Regions from separate parts of the Homo sapiens genome. Here regions 2 and 3 are each linked to region 1. Evidence: promoter capture Hi-C in 16 types of primary human blood cells and fetal thymus (Javierre and others, 2016). All regions are on one chromosome and are shown on one strand. The core of a region is centred on a gene start or on the middle of the fragment in contact, and the rest is flanking DNA. Distances in the headings are between cores, read along the strand shown. Region 1 holds the start of AHCTF1 (AT-hook containing transcription factor 1). Region 2 overlaps DRC8 (dynein regulatory complex subunit 8). Region 3 holds the start of SH3BP5L (SH3 binding domain protein 5 like).

The links. The method cuts DNA at HindIII sites, captures the fragments that hold promoters and counts their contacts. A CHiCAGO score of 5 or more calls a contact.
Region 2: a fragment that was not itself captured here is called in contact with the fragment with the promoter of AHCTF1 in region 1 in 1 of 17 cell types (fetal thymus); the score reaches 7.7 in fetal thymus.
Region 3: a contact is called between a fragment that was not itself captured here and the fragment with the promoter of AHCTF1 in region 1, in 2 of 17 cell types (fetal thymus and total CD4 T cells). The highest score is 7.1, in fetal thymus.

What each region holds. Positions count from the first base shown.
Region 1 is chr1:246,930,072-246,933,988 of GRCh38, forward strand. AHCTF1 (AT-hook containing transcription factor 1) reads right to left here and starts at 1,877. Exons shown (of 36, transcript NM_001323342.2): 1 at 1,507-1,877. RefSeq lists enhancers at 1,000-1,089, 2,210-2,259 and a silencer at 1,430-1,529. The HindIII fragment of the contact is 4,479 bases long and covers 835-3,917 here.
Region 2 is chr1:244,976,261-244,980,177 of GRCh38, forward strand. The region is part of intron 2 of DRC8 (dynein regulatory complex subunit 8); the gene reads left to right. Among named protein-coding and RNA genes, the nearest start is that of EFCAB2-AS1, 7.4 kb to the left of the region's middle. The HindIII fragment of the contact is 1,678 bases long and covers 1,347-3,024 here.
Region 3 is chr1:248,822,524-248,826,440 of GRCh38, forward strand. It overlaps SH3BP5L (SH3 binding domain protein 5 like), which reads right to left and starts at 3,392. Exons shown (of 7, transcript NM_030645.3): 1 at 3,312-3,392; 2 at 2,230-2,843. The coding sequence starts at 2,412. It overlaps MIR3124 (microRNA 3124), which reads left to right and starts at 3,854; the gene lies at 3,854-3,917. RefSeq lists enhancers at 3,064-3,123, 3,186-3,737, 3,494-3,753, 3,738-3,917, 3,864-3,913. The HindIII fragment of the contact is 600 bases long and covers 1,387-1,986 here.

The DNA of each region.
Region 1 (3,917 bases), core at 627-3,126:
CTGTACCTATGAAAAAGGAGAAGCATAAAAAGAAAACAAAAGTCTCAAAACTGATGTATAACGATCTTTTTTATTTTATTTTAGCAACAGGTTCTCGCTCTGTCACACAGGCTGAGTGCAGCGGCGCGATCCTAGCTCACTGCAACCCTCGAACTCTCAGTTTGAGGCTGAAGCTCAAACGTTCCCCCCGCCTCAGCCTCCCAAGTAGGCGCGCGACTAGAGGCGCCACCAATTCCCGGTTGACATGATGTTTTAAAAATTTTTTCAAGATAATTATTGTTGTTTGCAAACTCGTGACAGCTTGGTAGTATGTTACTGAAGGATCAGGATCCAAAAATCACAGTACAGAGACAACGTAGACTTCCCATAGCGCTTGGCACACTTAAAACATCCCTTCAAGTATTAACCTTAACTGGGCTTGTCATCCCAGGTCAAATCCTCCGAAATAAGTAAACCACTCTAATTTCTTCTCTCCTAAGAGACTCTATCAGTGAAAGCTCACAAAAAAACAGTTTAAAAAAAAAAAAGGGGGGGTCTCGCCATGTTGCTCAGGCTGGTCTCAAACTCCTGGGTTCAAGCGATCCTCCCGCCTCAGCCTCTCAAAGTGCTGGGATTACAGACAGGAGCCACTGCGCCCAGCCAAAGACAGTTCTTAAAATCTACAGGTTCTTTAGGATATTCTGAGAATAAATATCGTTTAGGATTTCCCCAAAGGATTTACGTTTTGTTCTATGAAGAACCCAGTTCTTCCAAAAATTTCTACAACTGACGATTTGGAAATAAAAATAACGCTCATCTCATAAAACTTTGCACACAGATAGTATGAACCTCGTAAGCTTTGAGAACAAAATTTCCCCATCTCTCAAAACAAAACACCCAAACCAAAACAGTCAACCAGTGGCAAAAGAAACCGTCCTGTTTCCCAGGTAGGAAAAAGGAAGGCAAAGCACCCCAAGATGTGCTTTTATTTTAAATCTCCTTGATCTGACCAATCGGGTGAGCTGGAACCTCACGGCTGAGCCCCGAGTCCAACTTCTTCCCCGCCAGGACTACTCACTGTGGCCAGGCCCAAGCGCATGTGGAACACACGCCAACACAGGACAGGCTCAGCACGCCGGCCGCTTCCCTCGGGGAAAGGCCCGCCAACGAGTCCATCGCGTGGGAGAACAGTGGGAAAGGGTCGCGGCCCCGGCCGTCCGTAAAGGGACCCGACTGCCGGCGCAGGACGCGAACCACCAGCGCCGCTCCGCCGCCATGTGCCGCCGCTCCTCCGGTCCGAGATTATGTAACGAAGCCCGGCGCCCGCGAGCCTGCCGTACCCGCCACCGCCACCGCTCGCCCCCTCGAGCCCCATCCGTTGGCCCCGCGCACGCCCGGCCTAGGCCCGGCGCTCGCGGGGCAGAAGCCCCGCCGCCGCCGCCGCCGCCGCCGCCGCCGCCGCGGGTCCAGGCCGCGCGACCCGCCCTCCGCCGCGCGGGCCCAACCCCCTCCCTCCCTTCCCCCTACCTGAACGGGGCGGGTGAGCGCGCCGCCGCGGGCCGAGTCCACCGGGTCGCCAGGCCAGGCGCGAGCTCCTCCCGTGCGGGTCCGTCACAGCATCTCCCGGGAGACGTGGCCGCCACGGGCCGGGCTCACACCCCTCCGCCCGGCTGAAGCCGCTCCTCTGCGCTCCGGCCGCCGCCTGCGACCTCCCCGGCCACCTCAGAGCCACACGCCCCCGAGAGTGCCTTCGCGGGCTGTAGGCCTGCAGACCGCTCAGCGGCTAAAACGCAGTCGCTGCTCCCGCCGCGCTTCTGGGTCCTTCCCCTTGCAACGCTGCCTGCTCGCCTCGGACAGCGCCGGCCCCGCTCTGCGCATTACCCTGCGCCGACAAAACCGAGTTCCACACGCCCCGGAAGGGAGGGAGCAGAGGAAAGGGCGGAGAGGGAGGGGAGAACCGGCGGGAGATCGCGGCTGCAGGGACCAGAGTTCTCGCGATGGTTCCGCGCTCTAGCGCCGGCTCCGCGGGAATTTTCAAACTCTCGGTGAAAGAAGGAGGTGGGAGGGAAAGGGAGGAAAGAGAAGCAGGGCCTGGAAGGGCGGATCATTTACAAAAAAATCGGGTCTCTCCGCCTCCGAGGAGCTGGTGGGGAGAAAGACTACGAGTCCCACAGTGCCTTGCGCGTGAAGCCGCCCTGGCGGCCCCGGCGGCGCGCCCCGTGCGCAGTTGGGAGTGGTAGTCTTCGCTGGGGGTCGCGCCGGGCTCTGCCAGCCGCCTGCTGCGATTGCAGGCGGACTCTCTTGTCACGTAATCGTGTGGCCCTGCCAGCTGGGGGCCGAGTGATAATCTTTCTCCCATAATTGGCAGCTTGCATTCTGTATTTTCTGTTCTGTGCTCCCACTTTTCTTTTTTTCTTTTTCTTTTTTTTGGAGACGGAGTCTTGCTCTGTTGCCCAGGCTGGAGTGCTGTGGCACGATCTTGGCTCACTACAACCTGTGCTCCCGCTTTTCATGCCAAAGGTGGGCTCCCAGACTTCTGGGGAAACGCTTTTTCCACGGTGCTGTTTTTTCTAGCATCCTCCTGTGCTTTCATGGCCAAAAATGCTCGCGCAGCCTAGCCTAATCTTTTTAGTCAAAATTTTACCCCAAATCACTGTTATCTTTTTGGTCACCGCGGGTTTTCATTGTGGAATTTCTTATTTCTTGTTAGTATCTTCCTTTGAAGCAAATCCCAGCGCCAAACATGTTTCAAACAGATAGGGAACGTATCCTTAATACTAAGTAGTAAGTAAAAGGATTATAACATGAGGTAGAGTAGGGATTTTAAGAAGATGCTCTTTTATCAGGAAAGTTTCTACTTTTCTGTTACCTTTCATATGTGCTTTTTAAATTTTTTTATTTTTGAGACAGTGTCTCGCTCTGTCGCCCAGGCTGGAGTGCAGTGGTGTAATCAAGGCTCACAGCAGCCTCGAACTCGTGGGCTCAAATGATCCTCCTACCTCAGCCCTCCAAGTAGCTGGGACTATGGGCATGGACCACCATGCGCCACTACGTCCCATTAATTTTTTTATTTTATTTATTTATTTATTTATTTATTTATTTGAGACGGAGTCTCGCTCTGTCACCAGGCTGGAGTGCAGTGGCACAATCTCGGCTCACTGCAACCTCCGCCTCCCAGGTTCAAGAGGTTCTCCTGTCTCAGCCTCCAGAGTAGCTAGGACTACAGGTGTGCGCCACCATGCCCAGCTGATTTTTGTATTTTTAGTAGAGACAGGGTTTCACCATGTTGGCCAGGATGGTCTTGAACTCTTGACCTCGTGATCCACCTGCCTCAGCCTCCCAAAGTGCTGGGATTATAGGCGTGAGCCACCGCGCCCGGCCTTATTTTTTATTTTTTGTAGAGACTGTCTCACTGTGTTACCCAAGCTGGTCTCTACTCCTGGGCTCAAGAGATCCTCCTGCCTCAGCCTCTCAACGTGCTGGGATTACAGACATGAGCCACCATGCCCAGCCTATTTTTATTTTTGTAGAGACTGTGTCTTGCTGTGTTGCTCAGACTGGAGTGCATGGCTATTCGCAGGCACTATGGCCTCATCAGTGCCACTGCTGCCTCCAACTTCTAGGCTCAAGCTATCCTCCCACCTCAGCTTCCCGAGCAGCTGGGACTACAGGCATGGATATCATGCCTGGCCCATATTCTTTCAGAGATAATGCTGCCTTTTGGAAATGTAATTTTCTTTTTTCTGTAATTTTTGTTTCTTTAGTAACAGCAACCTCCATACATATCATGTTTGTTTGCACAAGGTATTGGACCAAGTTGTGATAGAAACAGTTAAAAAGAGTACTGCTTTTGCAGTAGGAGGTTTGGGGTTCGTTGTCTTAATTATTTTAAAGAGATCTCTTCAAACAGAAACCACCCTCTGTTGGATGTGCTGATT
Region 2 (3,917 bases), core at 936-3,435, 2.0 Mb before region 1:
TCCATCTCAAAACAAAAAAACAAATAAAACATAAGAGTTAAGAAAACTTTTAAGTCTTACCAATTGGGATCATGCATAATGCATTCCTGCATATTTCTGGGGTAATTTAATAAGTTTTCTTCCTGTTTTAGACCAATATAAATATCCGGTTAAGACTAAGCAAACAAGAAGACTAGCTTTTTGAAGCCTAATTTGTTTCCTCTTATTCAGAATAAAAAAAAATTTGAAGAAAAACTGGACTGAAATTTGTTTTTGCTCTGATATATAAAATTTACAGAAATGTCTCAAGAATAGTCATAATTTTAAAGATCAAATGGACAGTGAGATACTACCTCACGCCTGTTAGGAAGGCTATTATCACCAGAAGTCCCCCAAATAATAAGTATTGGTGAGGATGTGGAGAAACTGGAACCCTCGTGGACTGTTGGTGGCAATGAGAAATGGTGCAGCTACTATGGAAAGTGGTATGGCGGTTCCTCAGAAAGTTAAAAGTTGAGTTACCATGTGACCCAGCAGTTCCACGTGTGGGTATATATCCACAGTAATTGAAAGCAAGGCCTCGAAGAGATATTTGCACAACCATGTTCATAGCACATTGTTCACAGTAGGTAAAAGGTGGAAGCAAGCCAAGTGTCCATCAGCGGATGAATGAACAAACCAAATGTGGTATATACGTGTAGTGAAATATTATTCAGCCTTCAAAGGAGGAAATTCTGACACATGCTACCGCTTGAATGAACCTGAAAGACATCATGCTAAGTGAAATAAGCCAGTCAAAAAGACAAATACTCTGTGATTCCACTTACATGAGGTACCTAGAGAAGTCAAATTCATGGAGACAGAAAGTAGATTGCTGGTTGCCAGGGGCTGTGGGGAGAGGAGAATGGGAAGTTGTTTAAGGAGTGTAGAGTTCCAGTTCTGCAAGATGAAGGAAGTTCTGGAGATTGGTTGCCCAGCAGTGTGAAGGTACTTAACACTATTGAACTATATGGTTAAAAGTGGTTAATACAGTAAGTTTTACATTATGTGTATTTTACCACATTTTAGTAAATAGAAAATGTTGAGTACATTCAGAATGAAAGAAATGGTACATTGTTTTTCAAAGGCAATTTGGAAATTTGTATTGAAGAATAAATGATGATGGCTAGGCAAGGTGGCTCACATCTGTAAACTCAGCACTTTGGGAGGCTGAGGTAGGAGGATTACTTGAGACCAGGAGTTCGAGACCAGCCTGGGCAACATGCTGAGACCTCATCTTTGCTAAAAATAAAATAAATAATAATAAAGAAGTCGGGGGTTCCCTCTGTTGGCTTTGGAGCCCCCATCCCTCTGTCTCTGTACAGGGAAGCTTCTTCCTTCTCCTTTCTTGCTCCTTCTTGCCTGTTAAACTCTCTATTTCTTAAAACCAAAAAAATAAAAAATAATAATAAAAAGTGATGTCCACATGCTTTGAGCTTTAATATACTTCTGGATATTTATCCTTAGAAATATATTCTGAAAAGAATAAAAAATGCTCTAAGCACAAAAATGATCAACATAAAGTTATCTATAAATTTGAAAATATAGATAACATTTGCATGTCCAACTAATGGGGCATACAAAATAAATGGTTGTATGTCCACTTGTTGGGTTGCAGCCAAATATATAAAAATTATATGTGTAAATGGGTAAGGACACGTGGGGGAGCCCAGGAGATGATGATGATAGCAGGGTGATTAGACTTTTAGGGGCACTTATTTTTAAAATCTCATTTTAATGTCAGTTCTACAAAACTTTAAAAACCCACTTAAATATGCTAATTAAAAATTATTCTTACCCACTTGTGAAAGTGTGTTTACCAGATCCTGTACTTGACAATCCTTTGTAAACCTCTAGTATGGATTTTATAGATATTAAGACTGTAAAAAAGTAATTTTAGTTTTTATTTTTATTTTTTAAGAGATGAGATCTAGGCCGGGCGCAGTGGCTCACGCCTGTAATCTCAGCACTTTGGGAGGCTGAGGCTGGCGGATCGCCTGAGGTTGGAAATTCAAGACCAGCCTGGCCAACACGGGAAAACCCCGTCTCTATTAAAAATACAAAATTAGCTGGGCATGGTGGCGCATGCCTGTTATCCCAGCTACTCGGGAGGCTGAGGTAGGAGAATCACTTGAACCCGGGAGGCGGAGGTTGTGATGAGCTGAGAGCACCATTTTACTCCAGCCTAGGCAACAAGAGCGGAACTCCGTCTCAAAAAAAAAAAAAAAAGAGACGAGGTCTCACTCTGTCACCCTGGCTGGGGTGCAGTGGCTTGATCACAGCTCACTGTAGCCTCTACTTTCTGGGCTCAAGTGATCTTCCCACTTTGGCCTCCCAAGTAGCTGGGACTGCAGGGGCGTGCCACTGTGCCCAACTAACATTTTTATTTTTGGTAGAGATAAGATCTTGCTCTGTTGCCCAGGCTAGTCTCAAACTCCTGGCCTCAGGCAATCCTACCACCTTGGCCTCCCAAAGTGCTGGGATTACAGGCTTGAGCCACCACCTCTGGCCCATAATTTTATTTTTTTAAATGCACTAGTAAAATTGGGAGTTTAAAAACCTGGACTAGAATTTGGACATTGCCTTTTTTTTTATTCTTTTTAAGATTTTGCTTGTTAGTGTCAATTTATCTGACCTTTGGTTTGAAGAATTTCCATCTAAAGAGGAAGATAGGCAGCTAAGGAGACAATGATACAATAATGTGATAAGTGCTATGATAGTTGCACATGTATGATGATTGGGTGCCTGGGGAGAGTCACCTGATTCACACACACCCTCTTTAAATTATAGCCCCTTTTTATTCCCTCTCATAGCTATTTGTTTTTTTCCTCTTTCATACTATATTTTGTAATTGCCTGTAGATGTGTTGTTTGATGTCTGCTTCTCCTAGACTCTTAACTTCCAAAAGGATAGGGGTCATGCTCATGCATATACCCAGAGCATGGCATATAGCTCAGTATTTGCTGAATGTTGAATCAAAGTTGGCTTTCTGAAGGAGATAACCGAAGCTTATCTTTTTTTTTTTTTTTTTTTTTTTTTTTTTTGAGACGTAGTCTTGCTCTTGTCGCCCAGGTTGGAATGCAGTGGCGTGATCTCGGCTCACTGCAACCTCTGCCTCCTGGGTTCAAGCGATTCTTATGTCTCAGCCTCCCAAGTAGCTGGGATTACAGACATGTGCCACCATGCTGGGCTCATTTTTTTATATTTTTAGTAGACGGGGTTTCACCATACTGGCCAGTCTGGTCTCGAACTCCTGACCTCAAATGATCCGCCTGCCTTGGCCTCCCAAAGTACTAGGATTACAGGTGTGAGCCACTGCGCCTGGCCTAATTTTTGTATTTTTAGTAGAGACGGGGTTTCACCATGTTGGCCAGGCTGGTCTGGAACTCCTGACCTCATGTGATCCGCCCACCTTGGCCTCCCAAAGTGTTGGTATTACAGGTGTGAGCCACGACTCCCAGCCCCAGGCTTATCTTGAAGGTGTAATAGCACAGAGAACAAGTAGGGGATGGATATTTCAGGAAGAGAAGAAATAACATACTTGAAATTGTGAAGACTCAATATGGCCGAAATTTAGGATGGGTTAGGAGATGTGGGAATTTTTATTCTTAAAGCATTGGTGAGTGATTAAAAGTTTTTAACAAGGCCGGGTGCAGTGGCTCACGCCTGTAATCCCAGCACTTTGGGAGGCCGAGGCAGGTGGATCACGAGGTCAGGAGATCAAGACCATTCTGGCTAACACGGTGAAACCCCGTCTCTACTAAAAAAAAAAAAAAAAAAAAAAAAAAAAATTAGCTGGGCGTGGTGGCAGGTGCCTGTAGTCCCAGGTACTTGGGAGGCTGAGGCAGGACAATGGCGTGGACCCAGGAGGTGGAGGTTGCAGTGAGCCGAGATCACGC
Region 3 (3,917 bases), core at 437-2,936, 1.9 Mb after region 1:
GACATCACAAGTTCACTGGAGGCAAAGTAAGTCTTACGCTACCTCAGTGTACTCCAACTCTCATAGAGCTCATCTGATAGAAGAGTCAGTGATGACAGAATATTCTATTTATGCACTGTCAGTATAACATTGAGGAACTGCTTTTTTTTTTTTTTCTGAGACGGAGTTTCGCTCTTGTCACCCAGGCTAGAGTGCAGTGGCAGATCTCAGCTCACTGCAACCTCCGCCTCCTGGGTTCAAGCAATTCTCCTGCCTCAACCCCCCAAGTAGCTGGGATTACAGGCACCCGCCACAACACCTGGCTAGCTTTTTTTATTTTTAGTAGAGACGGGTTTTCACCATGTTGGCCAGGCTGGTCTCAAACTCCTGACCTCAGGTGATCCACCTGCCTCGGCCTCCCAACATGCTGGGATTACAGGTGTGAGCCACCATGCCTGGCCGAGGAACTGCATTTTTACATGTTAATTTTAATTGATTGTGTTTAAATAGCCACATGCAGCTAGTCCACCCTATTAGACAGCACAATGCAAGCATGACTCTTCCTACTACTACCATGTGCCTATGCAGACACTGGAAAAATACATAGGAGTAGTAGAGGCCAAGTAAAGAGACCACAGTGGATTCTCCTCTGCAGAAGCCTTCTCTGGAGCAGGGCAAGGAAGGCTGTAGGGAGGCATATAATGCACATTACACAGCCCTCCTCCACAAGCAACAGAGAGACAGCTCTTTCCCAAAGTGCTATCTACAAACTATCACCAAGGAACAAGCAAAAAGAGTTTGAGAAAGAACTGTAGACTTGTGTCAGAGCAGAGCAAGAATGAGTTGTGCAAATCAGCTAGACCAACTGCTCACTTTACAGATGAAGAAACTGAGGCTCAGAAACGTAAAGAAACTTCCATAAAAATCATAAATCATGGGGTTGGAGGTAGCGTGAAACTCAGCCCAAGACTTTTTTCACTACAACTGATTTCCTCAGAGGATGATAAATCTGTAGAAATAGCAAGAAAAATTGGCTGTTTTCAATGCAATGTCAGGCAGAGCAGAAATAAATTACTGACTCATGCCAGAAACAAATGGCTCACCACTGCTCCATTATAAGCATGGACACAGTAGAAGAGGAACCCACACACACACACATATCCCAGGAACCCACACAGAGAGTGAAGGAAGAATGCCAGGACTGGCTTTGATTTCTTCCCAACTCACTGGAGTAATCCAATAAAGGTTTGCTGACAGATAAGCCTAGGAATTTGAGCCTTCATATGTTCTTGCTCACCTACAGAAGAGTCACTTCCACAACATCAGAGTCTTGGAGATGTGACCGGAACAAATGGCAGACTCAAGCCCCAAACATGCAGGAGCATCCTGGTCGTCACCTGCCCAAGAAGCTTCCTCAGGAAGTCATTCTCAGCCAATTCCCTGAAACACTGCAACCCAGCTTTGATTGGCCAGGCATCTCTTCCACATGGAGTTGGTCTTCCTCACTGACTACCCCCAGGTCTCCTACACAAAGATCTGCCTGTCCTACCAACTAGATTGTAGACACTCCAAGGCAATAAACTGCTCTTCCATTCCTTTAGGAGACCCACTATCCTGAGGGCCAGGTATGTATGTTACTAAGGATTGGCCACAACAAAAGTTACAAATCCTTGAACATATGGGGTTTCTTTATAGATCTAAAGTTGATGCTACCTTTATAACACTGGAAAGGTCTCACTGTTTACAAGGGTGAAACACATTATCAGAGCAATGTGGGCCGCACATCCCTGGAAGGTACCGCTGAGAAGGTGAGAAAGGGGAAAAGATTCTCTCACTCAGCCTCAAAACTGTCCCCCAGTATCAAAGTCATCTCCTCTCACACAGCATCCCTAACTAAGGTGGCAGCCCCTCTGCTTATCTGGAAAGAAGTACAACACACCTACCCTCCACTGACCTAAAGTGTGCCTCCTCCATCTACTGCCAAGTGACACTTTGCTCCTTCAGTGAAGCTTTCAGCAATGCCTCCCAAGCACTAAGGCCAGGCCTTTCTCTGCACTCCATCAGCACTTCAGACACACAACTCTTTTGGAACTTGTTACATTACCCTGCAATGATTTGTTGACAAACTTGTTCTCCTTTCCTGCCCCAGCAGACTGGGGACAGAGTAAGTCTAAGCCCTCATTCATCCAACACTCTTCAGGGAGGCTGGAATCTGGGCTCTCCTTCTCTCCCTGCTCTCAGTGCTCTCACCTGTATTCTAGGATCCAGTTCTTCCTCCTCTCTTGGGGACAATTTGGCCTCACTGCTGCTGCTTCCACCTCCTCCAGGCTCTTCTGCGACTGGGCTCCTAGGGACTTCATCCTCTACAACTTCAGGCCGCAGCTCCCCCTGTGGGGTCTCCCGCCCTCCTGGAACCTGTCTGAGCTCAGCCATGCTGACAGGGGGAGGGCAGAGCCCTATGCACAAGAGAGGACTGACATGCTGGGACCAGGGCCCCAGCTTGGGGCTTCCTGGGCTCTAGATGGCCAGGAGAAGAGTTTCTCTTCTCAAAAGGCAGAAAAGGTGGGCACAGGAAGAACCTCACACTAGGTTAGAGGTTGAGATTCAAGTTGTCAGTGGGGTTCCTAGAGCTGAAGCCTTGTCTGTGCAAAAGTTCTTCCCTTCCCGCCACAGGGAGTCCACTGTGACAAACCCGGAGCAACAGCTCCAAGGCAGGGGGCAAAGGGGGCTTGGATCCTGGACCGAGGCCTGCTAGGAGGAGCACCATTCGGGAGGGTGGAGGCAGGCGCCTCCAGGCTGTGGTGGCAGCTGGAGAGAGAAGGCTGGGCCCGAGCTGAGGCTGTAGGATGAGCGTCTCTGGGGAGCTGCAGAGAAACAAAGGCCAAGTATATGGTCATGTCAGCATCAAAACCGCAGCCACCAGCCCCTTCCAACTCTACAGCCTCCCAAAAACTACACTCTCACCACGCCCCCACCCATGTATTCCGACCAGTCCCTACCTCAACTTCTCTCCTTAGCCCTCAAGGACTTTAGATTCTACTCTTCCCCCGTCCCAGCTCCTCTCGACCCAGGCCCTCCTCAACCAGCGCCTTCGAGACTTTCCTCTGCACCCCTAGGCTCTCCTCCATCTCCTGTGGTCTCCCGCTCGTCCCACTCCACCCCAGCCCGGCTTTGCGATTCACCTTGTAACCCCGAGCCCCACCCCACCTTCTCTGTCCAACCCGAGACATCTAAGCCTCCCGTCTCCAATTCCACACTCTTCCGCAATCCCAAGGACCCTACTCCCGTCCATTCTACCCAGCCATGCGCAAAAGCCCCCCGCACAGCCTTACCTCAGTTTACCTTCCCGTCCGCGGAGCTTCTATGCTGCAAACAATCTCCCCCCCTCCCTCCCCGCAACAAGCCGATCCAACCAAAAACGACCAGGCAGACCAGAAGCGGAAATACATCATCGGTGAACAACGCTCTCCCTCCCACGCTCTCTCTCAAGCCGGGCCTCCTCGGGAGGCCTCACACTCCCCCGCCCTGCCTTCAGTTTCCGTACAAAATGGTGCCCCACGTTGCTCAGGCTAGCCGTAGGTTGCCTCCAGACCATACTCCACCAAGGCTGAATGAAAGAAAAACATGAGAATGTGGTGCTGAAGAAAATTAGGGCGCGGGACGGAAATCGAGAGTAACTGGTGAGAAGAGGAATACTAGATATAAAACGGAGATAATAGCCTCAGAGTGAGTAGTGCCATCTTGCTTTACGGAGCTGCGGCGGCGGCTGCCGGAAAGCCACTTCCGGCCTGCTCCACGGAGGCGGGCGCGACGCCGAAAGTGAGCTGGTAAACTTCCGGCAGTGGCTCCGGGGGCAACTCGAGTCCGGACGCTGGCGGGCTTCGCGGGCGAAGGCAAAGTCGATTTCCAAAAGTGACTTTCCTCACTCCCGTGAAGTC